Regions from separate parts of the Homo sapiens genome. Here all the other regions are linked to region 1. The links are contacts of gene promoters, found by promoter capture Hi-C in blood cells and fetal thymus (Javierre and others, 2016). All regions are on one chromosome and are shown on one strand. The core of a region is centred on a gene start or on the middle of the fragment in contact, and the rest is flanking DNA. Distances in the headings are between cores, read along the strand shown.

The links. The method cuts DNA at HindIII sites, captures the fragments that hold promoters and counts their contacts. A CHiCAGO score of 5 or more calls a contact.
Region 2: a contact is called between the fragment with the promoter of KAT6A here and the fragment with the promoter of VDAC3 in region 1, in 9 of 17 cell types (activated CD4 T cells, total CD8 T cells, naive B cells and 6 more). The highest score is 7.4, in activated CD4 T cells.
Region 3: a contact is called between a fragment that was not itself captured here and the fragment with the promoter of VDAC3 in region 1, in 1 of 17 cell types (naive CD8 T cells). The highest score is 5.9, in naive CD8 T cells.
Region 4: a fragment that was not itself captured here is called in contact with the fragment with the promoter of VDAC3 in region 1 in 10 of 17 cell types (megakaryocytes, endothelial precursors, M2 macrophages and 7 more); the score reaches 7.5 in megakaryocytes.

Annotation. Positions count from the first base shown.
Region 1 is chr8:42,390,583-42,395,868 of GRCh38, reverse strand. It overlaps VDAC3 (voltage dependent anion channel 3), which reads right to left and starts at 3,989. Exons shown (of 10, transcript NM_005662.7): 1 at 3,941-3,989; 2 at 1,985-2,024; 3 at 1,591-1,659; 4 at 736-785. The coding sequence starts at 1,657. It also overlaps a transcript of DKK4 not described here. RefSeq lists enhancers at 3,484-3,984, 3,985-4,485 and a silencer at 3,713-4,242. The HindIII fragment of the contact is 9,991 bases long and covers 3,088-5,286 here.
Region 2 is chr8:42,049,619-42,054,582 of GRCh38, reverse strand. KAT6A (lysine acetyltransferase 6A) reads left to right here and starts at 2,596. Exons shown (of 17, transcript NM_006766.5): 1 at 2,596-2,682. KAT6A-AS1 (KAT6A antisense RNA 1) reads right to left here and starts at 2,833. Exons shown (of 2, transcript NR_136589.1): 1 at 2,598-2,833. RefSeq lists enhancers at 1,462-1,982, 1,983-2,504 and silencers at 1,953-2,112, 2,303-2,932, 3,033-3,502. The HindIII fragment of the contact is 5,822 bases long and covers 1-3,803 here.
Region 3 is chr8:42,125,213-42,130,571 of GRCh38, reverse strand. It overlaps the pseudogene LOC101059972. Among named protein-coding and RNA genes, the nearest start is that of AP3M2, 25 kb to the left of the region's middle. The HindIII fragment of the contact is 9,989 bases long and covers 1-5,359 here.
Region 4 is chr8:42,675,408-42,680,216 of GRCh38, reverse strand. No RefSeq gene overlaps it. Among named protein-coding and RNA genes, the nearest start is that of CHRNB3, 20 kb to the left of the region's middle. The HindIII fragment of the contact is 1,054 bases long and covers 883-1,936 here.

The DNA of each region.
Region 1 (5,286 bases), core at 2,740-5,239:
TCCCGCCTCAGCCTCCCGAGTAGCTGGGACTATGTGCGTGCCACCACACCCAGCTAATTTTTGGTATATTTTTAGTAGAGACGGGGTTTCAGAATGTTGACCAGGCTGGTCTCGAACTCCTGACCTCATGACCCGCCCACCTCGGCCTCCCAAAGTGCTGGGATTACAGGTGTGAGCCGCTGCACCCAGCCAAAAGCTATTGTTAATGATACTTTGAAAATATGCCAACATAGCCTTTACTGTAGTCTTTACTTCCAATAAAAAAAACTTTATAAACATCAGTTAAAAACTGTAGAATAATGTACATGCATACGTGCAGAAATACATTTTATTTACATATTTTGTTTCGACTAATCATGAAGGGGCAGAGTAAAGTTAATTTGTTTTTGTAAAAGGGTAATAAAATTTCCATGAACCCATTATCATGGAAGTGAGGTTTTTGGTGCCCATATACATATTCATGAAAGTATAAACATATGACATGGGTCAAAAAATATATATTCTACATCTTCTGAGTGAAAGCTGTAGTATACTCTGAGAAACACAAAAGGTCTCTTCAAAAATTCAACTTGGTTGTTTATTTTAATTGGCTAAGAATGCTGTTTAAAATCTGAGAGGACAAAGCTGTGGGGAAGACAGCATGGTGCTGGTTCAAGTAACTAGACTGTCATGATTTTAAACAGATTCCTTTAAGTTAATTATGTTACATTCATTAAAAATATATTAGATACTCACCACTCCACTACAAGACTTGGTTTTCAGGTCTATCTTGACCATGCCAAAGCCTATACACACACACACACAAAAACACAGTAATGTACAAAATGTGACATTCACTAGTTTTTGCAACTCAGAAATTATGAAATAGCCTATAGTACCTTCCATATGAAAAATGCATAGTATTTTCATTGGGTGAGAGTTCCTCAAGAAACTGAATTATAACCAAATAAATGCAGTATAATTTTCAAGCACTCAAAATGAATAAAGATATACTTTTAAAATGTAAGTTAAAGAAAAAAATAAATGAAAGGAATATGCACTATTCCAAGAATCAAAATTGCTGAAAATAGTGTGCTGCTATATATATCGTTTAAAATATAGTTAACATTACTAGTTAATAAGAAAAAATCAAATATGTACAGCACATAAATTTAAGTTAAATTTTAAAACCTAAAAAATATTTATTTAGGATCAGAATATACATTACTCCAAAGAAGTCAAAAGTTATGTTGTCACTTTCATAAAAACAATGCCACTGTTTGGAGGGAGGAAAAGTTCTACCCCCTAATTTAATTGTCCTCAGGGCCAGACAAAGAGACATAAATGTTATATATATTATTCTACATTCCAGATAACATTAAATATGGACATGTATATGCATCTGTATATGTATATAATTGCTTTTAATGCTTGTAAGGGGTTCTGCCTCTAAAGAATGAGGTCTAATAGCCTGTTAATAGTTATCCCCTTAAATCTTGTGAAGTGGAATAATGCTGACTTACCCTTATTTTACTAACACAGTATTTACACACAGTAGGCATTCAACACTAACCTTTACCCCAAACTGGAAAGTTACAATAGCATACTTACCATATCCTTTGTTGAAGACATCCTTAGCAGCCTTTCCTAGGTCACAGTACGTTGGTGTGTTACACATATCTTATAAAGAAAAACAGGGCAAAGGAATAAAAATAACCATTTAGTATTTATTCACCCACAGTTCTTCTGCTGTTTAATCCTGTGAGAAGGGGTATACAGTTTTCTCTTCCTGTGTATCATTAATGCTTTAATGCAATCAAAGGTATGAGACAGCAGTCTGCTCCTTAAAAAACAGACCTTTCCAGAATACTGAGAATAAAACAGTTTTCCCGTGAGATTCAGAGGTCATCTTTCTGATTGCATTTCAAAGAAAAGTAAGTTCTTACAGGATGAAAAAGATGCTATGTTAAACTGGACTTCTTTTAAAAATATATGCAAAATTTACCTTAGAAAAATCTCTCTCAGGCTCTTATGAAACCAAAGACCTGTATAAGACAACAATGGAAATTTTTAAAGAAACTGTTAAAAGATGCAATCAAAATCCTCAGGGTTAACATTTTTCTCCTCTGAAATTCAGTTCTTAAAATAAGAATTTACCATACGAATTGAAGTGTATTCATCTAGAATATATCTTCTCTCAAAGCTCTTCTTAAAGTGCTATAATTTTACCCATTAACCAGAAATATGACAGATTCTACCTGCAGCAACCTGCTTACCAAAAGTTAGTGTAAACTCTGAAGTTAAAGCCTTCAAAAACCTCAGGTGCCTTGATTTTTCATCTTGCCTACTAAAAATCTGCCCAGCTTTGCTACTGGTAATATGACCCTCATATCAAATTCTCAGAGCTATCAACACTGCTGATTATCTCATTCCTTTGCCCTCTTTGTATCATGGGAAATCTTTCTGCAGCAGGTTCTTCTGTATTCCTCTCGCAGACTCAAAAGCTATGTCTAACCAATTACAGAGCCACCTCTAGCAGTGCCATTAGCCCATATGTCAGAAAAATCCAGAGTACCAGCTAGCCCTTGCAATTGCTACGCCTGAATGATCTACACATTTAAGCTCATATTTATTTATATATAGCCCAGCTCTTAATCCAGACTTCTGCTAAGCTTCTGCCTACCCCATCATACCAAACATATACATATGATGCACTTAAATGGGAATGCATTTAAGTTTTGTTCCTTAACATAAACCTGTCAAATATGACAGACACTATGATATAAAGAGACTAGTATAAAAAACTAAAAAGAAAAAAAAATTAAAGAGGAAACGGTAGTATAAATGTACTGACTCATTCCATAGTAAAACTTTGCTCTAAGCTACCAGGTTTCATAATTCACTTACAGAACGATTATTTTACAATTCAATCCCTTGTACTAAAGTGATCAATTCTAGGCTTTTTATATTATCCCAATTGCAATTTGATATTACTCTTTATGATTACAACTGATGTTGATATTTGTTGAAATTTTGCCAGAAGTCTGTAATTTGGGAAGTAAGTATAGAAATGCAGGCAGTATATATTGAAATAGAAATGTTAAAGCTTTACAGTCTGGTTTTTCATACTGCCGAGAAAAGATACACTTAAATGTTTAGAAGCACTATATATACGTCTAGGGACTATTTACAATATTTCAGCATTTTGTTTTGTTATTTTTCAAAACCAGTACGAGATACTATGCAAAAGTCACGTAGCTGGTTTAGTATACTAACTGACCTCAATTCTGCCTAGTTCAAGCTGACTTTTTCAGGCCTATGACTCTGATGGGAAATGCACTGCTAGTATGATCAAGCAAAAATCGAGAACAACAGAAACTTCATGTTCCTCGAGAGTAAAGCTACAACCACACGTCTCCACCAGCTCTACAGAATGCACCTGCCCATAGATGTGCACACTGCACAGAGGCTGCAGGAGACGCAGACGGGGAAAGGCGTTAAGCCGGTTGCTACTGCTTTACAAAGCCACTAACTTGACAGCCAGTACAGAGCCCTTTTCGTTCCTCGCTTCTCCGTTTTGAATTGCACGCAGGGCACCCTCCCTCGGCCGTAAGGAGGGGGCAGGGGCGGGCGGGAGATGGGTGTGGGGTTCGAGGATCCAACTTCCCTAGAACCGATCTCCTTTCTAGCTGACCCCTGGGAGGAAAGTGCGGTCCACACGCCGGCGGGATAGGTCGCTGCCCGCGCCCGGAGGCCACTTGCCCCGCCGTGCTGCGGCTCCATCGCCTGAGGTGGCCCGGGCGGGTCCCGGCGGGAGCGAGCGGCCCCGGCCCCCCGCGCCCCGGTAGCCTGCTCCCTGCCCACAGAGCCTCCGTTAGGCCCGCCTCCCGCCTGGCGCTCTGCTCGGCCGCGGCCCACCGCTCTCCGGGACTGGAGCCCGCGCGGCCTCAGCTCTCCTCACCTCCACCCCGAGGGCCTGTCTCTGCTCCGCCAGGGCAACGCTGAAGGTCTTCAAACCAACGCCGTCCGCGCCTGCGCAGCCTCGCACCCCCAGCCGCGCCTGCGCGCCGCCCCTCCCCGAGAGCGCCTGTGCGCCGGCGTGTCGCGCCACGGTCGCGCGCTTCGGAGCAAGGCGCGGAGACGAACAGCCGGGCCAAGCCAGCACCACCAACTGTCCGGCTCCGCAGCGCGCGTGCGCAGGAGGGCTCGGTGTGGACAGTGAGGTTGACTGGGGGCCCAAGAGGCTGGGGACCGCACCTGTGCCCTTGAGGGGACTCATTCTCGCGAGAATGCGCGAGGTTGCTAGTTAACTGTTGCCATGGGTGCGGCCGCGAAAAGGCCGCAGGGTGCCGGACCCCAGGTTTGAGGCATGCCGCAGGCCGGAGTGTAGTGGCGCGATCTTGGCTCACTGGAGCCTCGACCTCCTGGGCTCAAGCCGTCCTCCTGCCTAAGCCTCCTGAGTAGGAGGGTCCACAGAAGCGCGCCACCACGCCCGGCTAATTTAATTTTTTTTTTTTTTTTTTTTTGGTAAAGACGGGAATCTCCCTATGTTTCCAGGCTGGTCTCGAACTCCACGGCATAAGTGATCCGCCCGCCTGCGCCTACCAGAGTGCTGGGATCACAGGCCTGAGCCCACGCCCAGCCTCTTATGGGAATTTCATTTCAGACTGACCAGACTTCAAGAGTGTCACTCTTAGGTCATCTCGTCTTAAGGATGAGAATACACAGGTCCCCAGGGAGTAAGTGATTGATTCAAGATCCCACAAGTAGTGAGAGATGATAATTCAAAGGGGCAGAGGATGTGGAGGAGAAAAAGCTCTTCTGTAGAGGAGAAGACCAACTAATAAAGGTAGAATAGATGACAGAAATAGAAAATCATCGTCTTGGAACCACCATGATAATAATTGATTCAGGCTGAAATGATCAGTGGACCGTTGAGGATGTTCATATGGTTTCAAAGTATCACCCCCATAGATTACTCACTAAAGAGAAAAGGGTACCTTCACATCAAAGAGACTGATCAAACGGGGGATGGTAGGGACTGACATATGCCCCTGGTGTGAGGCACAGAGAGGGACACAGAGATAATATTCTTGTAAAAGTGTGTAATTTGCCTCTCTTCAGGACGAAACAATCAGGCAAATCCAAACTGAGAGACCTGCAAGACAACTGCCCAGTCTTCAAAAATGTCAGTTTCATGAAAGATTAGGAAAAAGGCTAGTGAACTGCTCTAGGTTAAAGGAAGCAGCCTGTAATCCCAGCACTTTGGGAGGCAGAGGCGGGCGGATCATGAGGTCAGGAGATCGA
Region 2 (4,964 bases), core at 1,347-3,846, 340 kb after region 1:
ATGTAAAGCAGAGACTCTTTATGGAAGCTGTGTGAAAAGCTCAACTGTGCTTTGTTGTTATAAATTGTTTTAAATTCTTGCTACTGTTTAATCCCCAGTTTGGTCTTTTCACAGGATGGCTGTGGCTAGTTTTCTTCCAAATTATCCAAAAGTAAACACAACTCATCTCTGTATTATTTTTCTTCTGAAGGCCACACACTCTAGTCTCACATGAAGAACTCATTGTCTTTGCATTAATATGACTTTATCTGCCCTCTTTGGGAAATAAAAATCTGCCTATTCTACTAAAAGAAAATACATATATATATATATATATATATTTTTTTTTTTTTTTTTTTTTTTTTTTTTCCTGGAGGTGATTTCATTACAAACAGGGACCATTTTACCTGAGAATGTGTCTATCTGATTCATCTAGGATGAAAGAGATCCTTTCTATTGGATTATCATGTATTCCAAATTTCTCTACTGCTTTGGAGATGGGGCTTGGAAGTAGGCGATGAATGGCAACTCAGTCAACCTCACTACATTACACTTCTGTTTCTGTCAGTGTCAGGATATTGATTAGGCTGGACCATGATCTGAAAAGTTACGTTATTCTTACTGAATGGTCCAGAGTCTACCGTATGGAGGGTAGGGCTATGGATTAGAGTGGAGACGGGATAGATAGAAAAGTTTGGGTTCCCTCTTGCTGTGTCTCTCAGGCTGGAGTGTAGTGGCGATCATAGTTCACTGCAGCCTGGAACTCCCGGGCTCAAGCAGGCCTCCCGAGTAGCTGGGCTACAGCAGCGCCCCGCCACAAACGGCTTTCTTAACGGCTTAAAAAATTGTTCATTCACGAGCAACATTTTTTTATTTTAAACCGCCTACTACAGTACTTGTACAACATTATTCTAGGTGCTGGAGATGCAGAGTCATTATAGGAGAGCATTTACCAGTGAATGTATTCGGAATATATATATATATATATATATATCACATGTAAGTGCAAAATGACTAGAGCAAATGATACTACTACAGAAGTTCAGAAAAGGAAGTCAGCATGGAAGTTAAGGCAGTGGGTGAGAGGGAGGCCCTTAAAAGCTAAAGCTGAGATAAAATGAGGTATTGCGGGCGACAGTCTAGGCGGGGTGTGTCGTATGGGGTTGGGGACAGGGCAGATAAAGGTCAGGCAGCAGGATACACGTCCATGTCAACGATTAAACATTTAGTGTCTTTTTCATGTCTACTGTCTTTCTAGTGAATGCAGAAAAAAAAAAAATGCATGACTTGGCCAGGTGCAGTGTCTCAGGCCTGTAATCCCAGCACTTTGGGAGGCCGAAGAGGGCGGATCACTTGAAGTCAGGAGTTCGAGACCAGCGGCCTGGCCAACATAGTGACACCCCGTCTCTACTAAAAATACAAAAATAAGCCAGGCGTGGTGGCGGGCGCCTGCAGTCCCAGCTACTCAGGAGGATGAGGTAGGAGAATCGCTTGAACCCAGGAGACGGAGGTTGCAGTGAGCCAAGATCGCACCACTTGCACTCCAGCCTGGGCAACAGAGCGACACTGTCTCAAAAAAAAAAAAAAAAGTATGACTCAGTCTCTGCATCAAAGAGTTTAAAGTAGATGAAAGGCAAGACAAAGAAACGTCCATACAGCCAGTAGTGGACAGGCAGGCCATGAAGAACCGCCTGCTCGTGGTTCCAACGCCCTAAGTATGGACAAGAGTTCCGCACAGGGCAAGAAGGGAAGACCGGCTTTGGAATAAGACAAATCTCAGTCCCAGGCTCAGGTGCGCGCCACATACTAGCTGTGTGACCTTGTCCAAGTCACACGACCCAGGTCTGTGGAGTCTCCCATAAAATGGCTCTAGTGAGCTCCAAGAACCCTCTCAGCTGCTGGGGGAGGGAAGAAATGAAGTCACTGCTGAAAGGGGTTAAGACGGGTGCTTCTGGTTCCACCCTCTCCCCAACTCTTCCCACCGACACAGGAGAGCCGTCGGGGGCTGAGGCGAGCTGCCAGGGGTGAGGACGGGAAGCCGCCTCCTCTCCGCCCCCCAGGCCCCGCCCTCGGGCTCCGGAAAGTCGCTGTGCAGGCAAATGAGTGGGGAGGGAGGGCTCACTAACTGTAAACAGACGCCGCCGAGAGTTCCCATCCTGCGTGGCTGCCGGATTTCCGTGCCACACTGAAGCCACCCCACCCAGACTCCTGCCCTCAGTTTCCCCAGCGGTGGCATGGGGTGCACCAGCTCCTCCTCTCCCGGGTCGCCGTCTGACTTAAACGCGTGAGACGGGAGAGGAGGAACCCCCGCTCCCCAGCCTCCAGCCCCACCAAGTCCTCCTCCTCCCCTGGCTTTGGCCTTTTGTACCGGCCCCACGTGACCCCGCCGGCCGGCTCTTCCCTGCTGCCCCGCCCCGCCCTCCGGCCTTTCCCGGCTCTCGGCCCAGCTCTTCCCGCTCTCGGCCGCCCCCCACCCGCGCTGCCGGGCCTCCGCCTCCCCTCGCCGCCCGCCCAGGCTCTTCCAGCTCCCTCCCCCAGGCCGCCGTTCCCTCGCGACGCTCCCCTCCCCCCGCGGCTGTTCCGCCGCCTTGCCTCCCCTCCCCCCGGCTGGAGCTCACTGTCTCCAAGATGGCGGCCGTGTCAGTTTGGGGCATCTCCGCGGTCCGGCCCGGGGCCCCGGGATCTCGGCTGTCCTTCCTCCCGGTAAGTAGCCGAGGGGCCGTTCCCGGCCGCCCCCGGCCGCCCAGCCCGAGGCCGAGCCGCTCCAGGGCCCACTCCGCTGCCTCGCGGGGTCGGCGGGCCGCTGCAGGCCCCGCCGCGGCCTGCGCCGCCTCCCGCTGCTCTGCGCCAGGCCTCGGGCTGGGGCGCCGTGGCCGCCCCCTCGCGCCCGCCCGCTCGCTCGCTCGCTTGCTCGCTTGTTCGGCGCCCGGCTGCCCCGGCCCGCGGCCCGCGCGCCGCCGCCCGGCCCCGCGCTCGCGGGCCCCGCGCCCCCGATCCCGCCGGCCGGGCCCGCCCTGGGGGAGCCGGCGGGTGGGCGGGCGGCGAGCGGCCCAGGCCGCGGAGCCTCGGGCTGGCGGAGCCGGCGAGCCCGCTCTCCCTCGGGGCGCGCCCACCCGCCCGCCGCGCGCGTGCCGGCTGTGCCGGGCCGGGCCGCTTCTCCCCGCGCTCGCGGGCGCTCGGGTTCGGGCTCGGGCTCGGGTTCCGGCTCCGGCTTTGGCTCCGGCCGGGGGCGCGGGGATCCGAGCGGGGCTGAGGCGGCGAGCGGGGCTGACAGGCCGGCGGGTGTTGTGGTGCGAGGCGCAGCACGTGTGGTGTTGTGTCTGCCGGGCTGTCAGCCCAGCCGCCGAGGGGAGGCCGGGCGCCTGTCAACCTCGCGGCTTGGCCCGGTGCGCGACTGTCAGGCTCCCAGCAACCCGCGCCGCCCTCGAGCCGGCCCCCAGAGCTTAGGGTGCGGAGCTGGGCCGGGGCTATGCACCGCTCTGAACTCCTTCACGTGATTTCATTGTTAACTTGTGCTCGGGGTCTGTTTCCATCGCGTGGAAACGGTGCAGCGCCCCGTCGGCGAGCTGCCGGGCTGTGCAGATCCAAGTTTTTAAAGTTTCTCGCTCTTTGAAAAGAGAGCGCGAAGACGTGTTTAGGGGTGGGGAATGGGGACGGGAAGGACTGTCGGAAGCGAGTTGCGCTCGCTCTAGCCGCTCGTGTACTTTCCGGGAGTTAAGATCCGAGGCTGCAGGCGCTTGACTTTCCGAAGACCTGGAGACTGATGACAATCCCGACTGGAAAGACAATGAGTGACTGTCACTCATTCTTTTACCTGCGAAGCTTAGTCAATTAGGACGTTCGTTCCCAGCTTGTTAAACTCAGGATGTAGCTTCTCATTTAGTTTAGACTTAATATCTGTATAATGAGCTTACTTGGAGTAATGATACTCTGATTTCTATCCTCTTGAGACCCTCACCAAATTGAAGCATGATTCTCCCAGGGGGCTTCTTTTTAGGCAGCTGATTTAAAAACAAATCTTGGCTCAGGTTTGAATGTTTGCTTCACTCTTTTCTTTCCTATCAGAGTTAATAGTAATATCTCTTTCCTAGTGTGTATTAGTTTTCCGTTTGATTTTAATGTCACTACCAAGAATAGTTGCTGTGGGAGCCATTTGTCTAGCATTGTTTATATTGTAATGCAAATGATCTCCAGAATGAGAGCAGAAGTTCTAAAAAACACTTCAGTTAAACTTATTTTTGGAGGCAAAAGAGTTAGATTCAGAATTCAGTACTTTAGTGATTAAACAAGATTGCATCTACCAGATTCTTTTATAGGGATACTGACTTTGATTCAGAGAGACAGTACATTTCTGTTTATGTTTTATTAATGTTCGTTTCAGGACAGCAATCTTGAATTTATATCTTTATTATTTGGGCTTCTCTTTAGTCCTACAAGTAGCCAGTGTATTTCTTTTTCTGTACCGTCCGTTTGATATGTAGTATGTGCGTTGACCCCAGTGATTCTGGGCCTTCCTCATTTCTAGTTTTCCTGTCTGAATTACTTACACGCAGTTTGACAGTTGTGACTCTCTTCAGCATATGAATAGAAACATCTTAGTTTGGGTTAGGAGAAGCTATCAGCATGTAATTCTTAAAATTTGAATGAAAGTGGATTATTGTTAAATTCAGTAAGCACTTTTACTCTAGGCTATTTTCAATAGTATTTTTGTTTCCATTAGGAGAGATTAAGGTAATACTGTACTTAAATTATAAACTGGGTGTGCATATTGTATTCATTCTTTTCATGTAAGAACTAAAATTTTCTCAGTCGTTTTCTGCCTTATTGACTGTTTTTGTCTACTCTGAATGTCTAGAATTTTGAAAGATGAAAGATTCACTTTTACTTTCATTGCAGGATTCTTTCTACTAATCCAGATACTTGTTGAAGTGCTGACTAGTTTCTTGGGGAAAGATGTCAAGGAAGAGTTGAAATTCCTAGACTGG
Region 3 (5,359 bases), core at 2,006-4,505, 260 kb after region 1:
ACTAATTTTTTTTTTTTTGAGACAGGGTCTCACTTTGTCACCCAGGCTGCAATCATGGCTCACTGCAGCTTTGACCTCCTGGGCTCAAGTGATCCTCCCACCTCAGCCTCCCCATAGATGAGATTACAGGTGTGTGCCACTGTGCCCAGATAATTATTTATATTTTGTAAAGACAGGGTCTCACTATGTTGCACAGGCTGGTCTCGAACTCTTGGGCTCAAGTGATCTTTCCACCTTGGCCTTCCAAAGTGCTGGGATTACAGGCATGTGCTACAGCACCCAGCCCTAAAATGTTTTTAAATTAACTCAAAATGGATTAAAGATCTTAATGTAAAAGCTAAAACTATAAAACTCTTAGAAGGAAACATAGGTGTAAGTCTGTGTGACTTTGGATTAGGCGGTAGTTTCTTAGGTATGACACCAAAAGAATGAGCAGCAAAGAAAAATGGAAATATTGGACTTTATTCAAGTTAAATAGATACTATCAAGAAGGCAAAGAGACAACCCAAAAATGGGGGATAATATTTGCAAATCATGTGTCAGGTAAGGGACTAGTACCTAGAATATTTAAAGAACATTTATAATTCAACAGGAAAAAGATAAATAACCAATTTTGAAATGTGCAAAGGATTTATATAGACATTTCTCTGAAGAAAATATTCAAGTGGCCAATAGGTGGAAGAAAAGATGCCCCAAATCATCAGTCAACAGGGAAATGGCAATGAAAACCACAAGGAGATGTCACTTTACACCCACTAAGAAGGTTATAATCAAAAGAAAAGAGAAGAGAAAAGAAGGAAGGAGAAAAAGAAAGAAGAAACTGTTAGTGAGGATGTGAAGAAATTGCAACCCAGTAGCTCACACCTGTAGTCCCAGCACTTTGGGGAGCCCGAGGTAGGAGGTTCACTTGAGGTCAGGAGTTCCAGGCCAGTCGGGGCAACATAGTGAGACCCCCATCTCCACAAAAAATTAAAAATTAAAAAATTAGCTGCGTGTGGTGGCACGTGACTGTAGTCCCAGCTACTCAGGTGGCAGAGGTGGGAGGATCCCTTGAGCCCAGGAAGTGGAGGCTGCAATGAGCCGTGATAGTGCTCCACTGCCTGACAGAGCAAGTTGCCGTCTCTACAAAAATAAATAATGAAATTGGAGCCTTCTGGGAATGTAAAATGGTGCAGTGGCTGTAGAAAACAGTTTGGTGGGTCTTTAATAAGTTACACATAGAATTACCATATGAGAGCCCACACCTGATGGCTGGCCCCGCCCCACTCACCTAGCCCAGCGCCTTCTCTGCACCAGGAAAGCCCCACTCACCTGAAGCCAAGCTGTCCAGCAGGCAGGCCATGGCCAGACCACCGAGAAGCCACAGTGGGCCACATCCAATGTCTTCGTGATGTTTGACCAGCCCCAATCTGGGAGTTTAAGGAGGTCTTCCACGGGTTTGCCCAGAGCTGTGATGGCTTCATTGACAAAGAAGGCCTGGCCTCGCTGGGGAAGAACCCCATGGTGAACAGCCGGAGGGTGAGATGAGTGAGGCCCCGGGGCCCATCAACTTCACCATGCTGCTCACTGTGTTTGGGGAGCAGCTGAACCGCATGGACCCTAAGGATGTGATCTGCAACACTTCGATGAGGAAGCCTCAACTTCAGGTTTTATCCAGGAAGCCCGCCACGGTGACCACCTCACAGACCAGCAAGTGGGCGAGTTGTACCCGGAGGTGCCTGTTGACAAAAAAGGCAACTTCAACTATGTGGAGTTCACCCGCATTCTCAAACACGGCACCAAGGACAGAGACCACTAGGCCATCCCAGTCGTCCTGACGCCCAGGCCCTGTCCCAGTCACCCCTCCCCGCACACACAGTCTGTACCAGCTCCATGCCCACGACCCTGCAAGACCCTCTCAGGGGGTCCCCCCTTTGAGAGGTTAGGATCCCAGCTCCCAGTGGAGGAAACGGGCCAAGAAATGTGAATGCCAGGCAAGGAGCACACTATGGAGCTGAGGCCGGTGTTCCCACCATGACCCCAGGACCAGGGGAGGGAGCCTCAGACCCCTCCAAGGAAAGATCACCTTCTGGGGAGATGGGCCAAGGGCAGGAACTGGAGGCACCAAGGGAAGACTCCTCAAGAGAGCTCAGGCCTTGGCCGAGGCCTGCCCATTCCTGGGCTGCCCCCTAGGAGGAAGGGGCCTTGAGTTGTGGGATCTGACACTACTTCACGTGCATTCTCACATAAACACAAGCTCACCAAGGTCCCCTCTCAAAGGACAGGACGCCAGACCCCTCCCCTACACCCTGTCCGGCACCAGAGCACACCCACACACAGCACACCACCCACTGTGGGAGTGTACTCACGAGGACGCAGAGGGAGGGACATCCGACCCAGGGGAGGCAGAATCTCCAATAGAGGGCTGAGCACTGAAAAGAAAAAGAAAGAAAGAATTACTGTGTAAACCAGCAATTCCACTCTTAGGTATAGGCCCAAGAGAATTGAAAACATACGTTCACACAAAAACTTGTGCACAAATGTTTACAGCAGTGTTATTCACAACAGCACAAAACTGGAGACAACCCAAATGTCCATCAACCAATGAATGGAGAAACAAAATGTGATACATTCATGCAGTGGGCTACTATTCAGTCATAAAAAGGAATGAAATGCTGCTCCATGCTACATCAGGATGAACCTTGAAAACATGATGCTAAGTTGGCTGGGTGTGGTGGCTCACGCCTCTAATCCCAGCACTTTGGGAGGCCGAGGCAGTCAGTTCACCTGAGGTCAGGAGTTCGAGACCAGCCTGGCCAATATGGTGAAACCCCATCTCTACTAAAAATATAAAAATTAGCCGGGCATGGTGGTGGGCTCCTATAATCCCAGATACTCGGGAGGCTGAGACAGGAGAATCGCTTGAATCCAGGAGGCGGAGGTTGCAGTGAGTGGAGATTGTGCCACTGCACTCCAGCCTGGGTGACAGAGTGAGACTCTGTCTCAAAAAACAAACAAACAAAAAAATTACGCTAAGTGAATGGAGACAGGCACCAAAGACCACGTATTATATGATTCCACTTATGTGAAATGTCCAGAATGGGAAATCTACCTTATGGGAAACCAGAAAGTAGATTTATGGTTGCTAGGGGATAGGGAGGGGAGAAAATTGCCGCTAATTACTTATAGGTACAGGGTTTCTTTTGGGGTGGTGAAAATGTTCTAGAGTCGATAGTGGTGATGGTTGCACAGCATGTTCACTATAACTAAAACCACTAAAGTGTATACTTCAAAATGGGTGAATTTTACATCATGTAATTTATATTTGATTTTTTTAAATGAAAAAAATATTATGGGGATGGGTTTAAAATTACAAAAAAGCATCCCAAATAAAATAACAATCATTAATTATACCATTATCTAGTATTAACCCTGTTAAGCATATTCTTTATATGTGTACAAACAATAAGTCTTCATAATAATTTAAATAATGTAGTTTATATAAAGAAGTTTGAAGATGAAAAAAATCACTCCAAATCCCATCAATTACTACCTTTAGGGAAATATTAGTTCTAGATATAGCATACACATGCTGACACACACACACACACCCCTAAAAGAAGAGAAAGATTTTATTAGAATAGCATTAAGTATAGGATGTTCTTTTAAAGTATACAATTTAATTTTATTTGCATTTGATAGAGTAAAAAGAAAGTGAAATACATCTAGAGGAACTGTTGAATTTTCAAGTAAATGCTTCTGCACAATAAAATACATTATTAAAAATCTTCTGGGTTTAAAGAGTTGGAGACAGAGAAGGAGGGAGGGAGAAAGAAGAGAAAAAAACACTAGAGATTATGAAAAATAAAGCTAGTGTCTATTTTTAAAAACTCTATAGTTCCATTTCAGGTAGCGGCCAGTGTTCTCCTGCTTTGGAAGATGAGGGCATAGCTCTTACTCTCTCCCAGCCCCCACATTTTTTTGTTTGTTTGTTTTTTGAGATGGAGTTTCGTTCTTGTCTCCCAGGCTGGAGTCCAATGGCGCAATCTCGGCTCACTGCAACCTCCGCCTCCCAGGTTCAAGTGATTCTCCTGCCTCAGCCTCCTGAGTAGACCATGCTGGCTAATTTTTGTATTTTTAGTAGAGATGGGGTTTTACCATATTGGCCAAGATGGTCTCGAACTCCTGACCTCAGCTGATCCTGGGATTGCAGGAGTGAGCCACCGTGCCCAGTCCAGCCCCCATGTTTTATGCCCTCTGTGGTATCATTAGTTATATTGCTATTCTCATACTGTCCAGGTTTGTATCAGTCACATGCTCCTATGTAACAATAACCCAATAGGTAGTCATTCTTGAGCTGGATTTTATGGAGTTTGTGCTCACAGCCGGTTTTGGTTTGTTTGTTTTTTAACTGTGGCTTCTGCATTTCTGGATCATTTGTGGTGATTCATCTTGAAATCATCTGGATTTCATTGTTAAGCAGTTTGTTTTTTTCCTAAGAAGAACTCACGGTTTTGTATTACCTGAGATTTTTCATGCCTGTGAACGTCTTCTTATTGACTTTGCTCATGAACAACATCTTGCCTGGCTATTAATTCTTGGGTCACAGGTTTTGTTTTTTGGTTAGAATTTTCTAGCTACAGCTCCTATGACCTGGGGTTTTAAGCACTGTTGTGTCCCTCTTTTGGGTAGTTTCATTTTATGTCTAAATGCCTAGAGACTTCTTTCCTTATCCTTTAAATTCACAGAAGATGTCTTGGAGAAGAGAGTTTATCAAGTTCTCCTGGTACGTTATATTATGTTGTATTTTCTATACTCTGTGGATTTAGTTTTTTCTTCAGTTTTAGTTGTGTCATCTTATATGACATAGTTTAACATAACTACTTTCTACTTCTTGGGTTCTTTGTACATATGTTGGATTATTGTTATCTATCTTCCATATGTTTTAGATTGCCCAGTTATTTTACTGTCTTTGTCTTATTCATCTACATTTGCTAGGATTATTTCCAGCCTTTCCCCTTTGTCATTCATTCCTTTATTAATGCTGTTTATTCTGATTGTTGTTCTTTCTTATTTATTCATTTATTTGAGACAGGGTCTCAATCTGTCACCCAGGCTGGAGTGCAGTGGCACAATCACAGCTCATTGCAGCCTCAACCTCCCAAGCTCAGGTGATCCTCCCACCTCAGCCCCCTGAGCAGCTGGGAATACAGTTGTGTGCCACCACAGCTGGCTAATTTTTGTGTTTTTTGTGAAGACAGGGTTTCACCATGTTGCCCAGGCTGGTCTCAAACTCCTGGGCTTAAACGATCCATCTGCCTTGGCTTCCCAAGGTGCTAGGATTACAGGCATTAATCACTGTGCCAGGCCTCTAATTTAT
Region 4 (4,809 bases), core at 160-2,659, 290 kb before region 1:
GGCTGGTCTTGAACTCCTGACCTCGTGATCTGCCTGCCTCAGCCTCCCAGAGTGCTGGGATTACAGGCGTGAGCCACCGCGCCCGGCCGGGGCCACACGCTTTTAAACAACCAGATCTCACAGGAACTCACTCACTATTGCAAGGACAGCACCAAGGGGAAGGTGCTAAACCATTCATGAGAAATCCACCCCCATGATCCAATCACCTCCCAGCAGGCCCCACAGCATGAAAACTGGGTGGGGACAAATATCCAAATGATGTCAAGGAGCAATAAGGCATAATAATATGGGAATCCAAAGTGTTGGGTTTTTGTTTTTGTTTTTGCGACTGCTGAGGACTATTGGAATACTTTGTCTTATCCAAATAGCTGTTGTTTGAGGCTGGGCACGGTAGTTCACACCTGTAATCCCAGCACTTTGGGAGGCCGAGGCAGGTGGATCACTTGAGGTCAAGAGTTCAAGACCGGCCTAGTCAACATGGTGAAACCCCATCTCTACTGAAAATACAAAAAATTAGCCTGGCATGGTGTGCATGCCTGTAATCCCAGCTACTCAGGAGGCTGAGGCAGGAAAATCGCTTGAACCCAGGAGGCAGAGTTGGCAGTGAGCCAAGATTGCACCACGGCACTCCAGCCAGAGTGACAGAGGGAGATTCTGTCTCAAAAAACAAAAACAAAGACAAAACCCCACATAGCTGTTGTTTGAGTGCAATTACGTTGTTTGGATGCAATTATGACTTAAAGTTTTTTTCTGACATAAAAGTTTTTTCTTTGTTTTTGTGTTTTAAGTGTTCATTTGCTGCTAGCATAAACTTCAGCCCTCTTTTGTTTGGTCATTACACCCCTAACCTGGCAGGGGCCTATAAGCTGCACAAATTAAGCTTCTAGTTAGTGAGGTGCATGAGCCTCCCCTTAGCACAGTTCTGTAAATCATAGAATTTTATTATTTTATTTCAGACAGGGCTGAGCACGCCACAGCCTTGACATCCCAGGTTCAAGCAGTCCTCCCACCTCAGTCTCCTTAGTAGGTGAGACTACAAGTGTGCACCACAACACCTGCTAATTTTTACATTTTTTTATAGAGATGGGGGTCTCACTCTGTTGGCCAGGCTGGTCTCAAACTCCTGAGCTCAAGTGATCCTCCTGCCTCAGCCTCCCAAAGTGCTGGGATTACCGGCATAAACCACTGCACCTGGATTGAAAATCTCTTAAAACTTTTGTTGAATGAGAATGAGGCAAATCTAAGCCTGCTATACATCTACTTAGGATTTTAGTCACCTTTTTAAGGTGTGTGGGTATCTCTTTATTGCTAAGGGTTACCTAAAAGAAAGTCATTCTGATATTATAACTACTCTGTTCTGAGTCCATTCCAAGAACAATGTGCCCCTTACCCAAGTTTATGGGCTGATAGAGGGAGACAGAAAGATAATTGTGGACTTTTCATTTCCTTTTGCTTCTTTAGTGAGTAGGGAATTACAAAGCAGGCTCCGGTGGCTTCACTTTTCTGCCTGGGGGAACTGGAGTGGAAGTGAGGGTGGGGCTGGGGAAGCAGCCTTTGCTGCCCCTCGGCTCCTTTGTCCCAGCTCATGGGGTCTCCAGCAGCTCACAGACCTTCTGTACCACTGTGAGATAACGCCGGGGGATGGGACTGTAGTCACCTGCATGCTGGATTTGATCCTGGAAGGAAACAGACAAATTCTGAGAGGGTTGCTGATGACCCGGCAGGACTTTTTGCCCTGCTCTTCCCTCTGGCTCTCAGTTAACTCTCTGTATTAAGGAAAGTAGCTTTCAGGTTTTATAAGTGGCAGGGAGGTGTGTTCTTTGAAACAGCTCATCAGACCTATTAGAGATGATTTTCAATTCTCTGGGGAAAGTGTCAAACATCAGAAAGTAAGGAACTCACTTCCTTTCTCTGTTGTTTCAGCTTGTGCTAAGCTTTAGTTTGAGTTCATTTTTGTGAGTTCTTACCTGAAGCAATACTAAGTTGGCAAGTATAAAACTTCACGTGTAGTGGTTGAGTAAAGGGATTTTTCTTAGAAAACATGAAGTAGGAATAACCAAGTATGTTCCCACCTGCTACTTCTCTTTGGCCATGACTAGAACCACAGAAATTTCATTGAAAATCAAGGAAAGAATCTTTCAGCCAATTTGTTACCTTACTCCAGTTTCCGGGGGTGATGGGTCCTGGCCAACAGTTCTGAACTGATTTTTTTTTTTTTTTTTTTTTTTGAGACAGAGTTTTGCCCTTGTTGCCCAGGCTGGAATGCAATGGCACAATCTCGGCTCATTGCAACCTCGGCCTCCCGAGTTCAAGTGATTCTCCTGCCTCAGCCTCCCAAGTGGCTGGGATTAGAGGCGCCTGCCACCATGCCTGGCTAATTTTTGTATTTTTAGTAGAGACAGGGTTTTACTATGTTGGCCAGACTGGTCTCGAACTCCTGACCTCAGGTGATCTGCCCGCCTCAGCCTCCCAAAGTGCTGGGATTACAGGCGTGAACCACAGTGCCTGGCCTGAACTGAAATATTTGAATAAGGAAAGGCAGACACAGTCTAGAAACTAGAGACTTACACATGGATATCAATCCCTAACAAAATCTACACAGTCTTCCTAGACAAATGAAGGTTACCACTGAGATTCAGCATGGATCCATGACAAATAAGTGGTATTGATTAAACACACCATTTCATTGATTGGGATAGTAGGGTAAGTGATCAAGGTATGATAAATGCCTGAACAGCAGACAGCTTTGGAGTTGTGGGTCCTGGCCTCTGTTGCTGGGAGACAGGTTGATAGGTTGATGCAGCAGCACAGGAGATCGCCTGCGGCCAGCAGATACGTGGGATGCAGATACTGAACATGGAGAGGGTGAGTTGTGAACATCACAAAAACAAACGTGGTGGCCCCAAAGAAAGGGGATCCAGGTTGTCCTTTTCCTCACTGGTAAGACAGGGTTTTTCGAGTTATGGATTTTAGTTATTCAGAGGACCCAATCAATGACTGGGAATGTCGAGTTTTCTATCCCTAAAGGGCTAGAGGCAAAGATCTCGACAGTGGAGAGAAGGATCGGCCTAGGGCAGCCACCTCAGGAGCCCTGAGCAGATAAGGAAGCCACCACAGAGACCCCTCTCCACCCCCACACACTTTTTGGTCCTTATGAGTGATGTGAGGAACATTCAAAACCTGGAATTTGAGGAGCATGGAATGAGTTTTCAATTCCACATGCCACCTATTGACACAATTATGTATGTATATATGCATTTATTAGTTGTAAACTAAATACTAACATAGGTGTTAAAAATGATACCAGGCAGGGGTCGGTGGCTCACACCTGTAATCCCAGCACTTTGGGAGGCTGAGGCGGGCAGATCACCTGAGGTCAGGAGTTCGAGACCATCCTAATTAACATGGTGAAACCCCATCTCTATTAAAAATACAAAAATTAGCCAGGCGTGGTGGTGCATGCCTGTAATTCCAGCTACTCAGGAGGCTGAGGCAGGAGAATCGCTTGAACCCGGGATGGGGAGGTTGCAGTGAGCCAGGCTGGTTGCGCCACTGCACTCCAGCATGGGTGACAGAGTGAGACTCCATCTAAAGTAAAAAAAGATACCATTATCCATCTAATATAGGCTCTAACAGGTTACTCCAAACACAGCTACGACAGAACAGTCTTTCCACACATCAAAGATTATCCTCTTAGACTAGACAGCCTCCTATGTGACAGTCAAGCAAGGCGGGAAGACACCATGTCCCAAGGAGATCCTCTACGCCACCCTGGAGAAAAGCAGTTGACCTGTCCCAGATAGGCCGTCCTTTGATGTATCAGCACCATCTCTTGCAGGCAAGACAAAGGCATGGAGGTTTGAGGCAACAACAGGAAGCCACCTAAGAACTGCTGCTCTTTGGATGTCAATATTAAGAACCAATCACTATGAGTTTGAGACCAGCCTGGGCAACATAGCAAGACTGTGTCTCTATAAAAAGTTTAAAATTAGCCAGGTGTGGTGGTAGTTCCAGCTACTCGGGAGGCTGAGGTGGCAGGATCACTTGAGCCCAAGAAGTCACGGCTGCAGTGAGCCATGATTGCACCACTGCACTCCAGTTTGGGTGACAGAGCAAGATCCTGTCTCCCCCACCCCCAATCTCCCACCAAAAAAAGAATTTATATAGATATAGATATAGATATCGATATAGATATAGATAGATATATATCTTTTCTGAGATAGGGTCTTACTCTGTCATCCAGGCTGGAATGGAGTGGGGGCACGATCACAGCTCACTGCGGCCTCAACCTCCCGGGCTCAATCCTCCTACACCAGCCTCCCAAGTAGCTGGGATCACAGGCTCGTGCCACCATGCCAAGCCAATTTTTGTATTTTTTGTAGAGATGGGGTTTTGCCCCCATGTTGCCCAGGCTTGTCTCAAACTCCCAGGCTCAAGCGATCCTCCTGCCTCAGCCTCCCAAAATGCTGGGATTACAGGCATGAGCTACCACCCCTGGCCGACAGGTATCTCTTCAAAAACCAATTTTGAGGCCACCTGTCATAGAAACCATCAGTGATACACAAAAAACGGCAAGACAGAATCCTGGCCTTGTGAAGTCTACAGTTTGTGATAACCAGCACTTTCTTGGTTCCAATGGATAAACTCCAACCCATGCTCGCTTAGAATAATAAAAGGTGGAAGGGGTCTTATAGGAGGGATCCCAGGGGGAGGGGTGTGTGAAGTCAAACAAGGAGCTAAATATCCGGGCTCAGAAAGGCTGGGAGACCAGCACTAGGGACAAGTCCCAGTTAACTCAACCCCTTCACA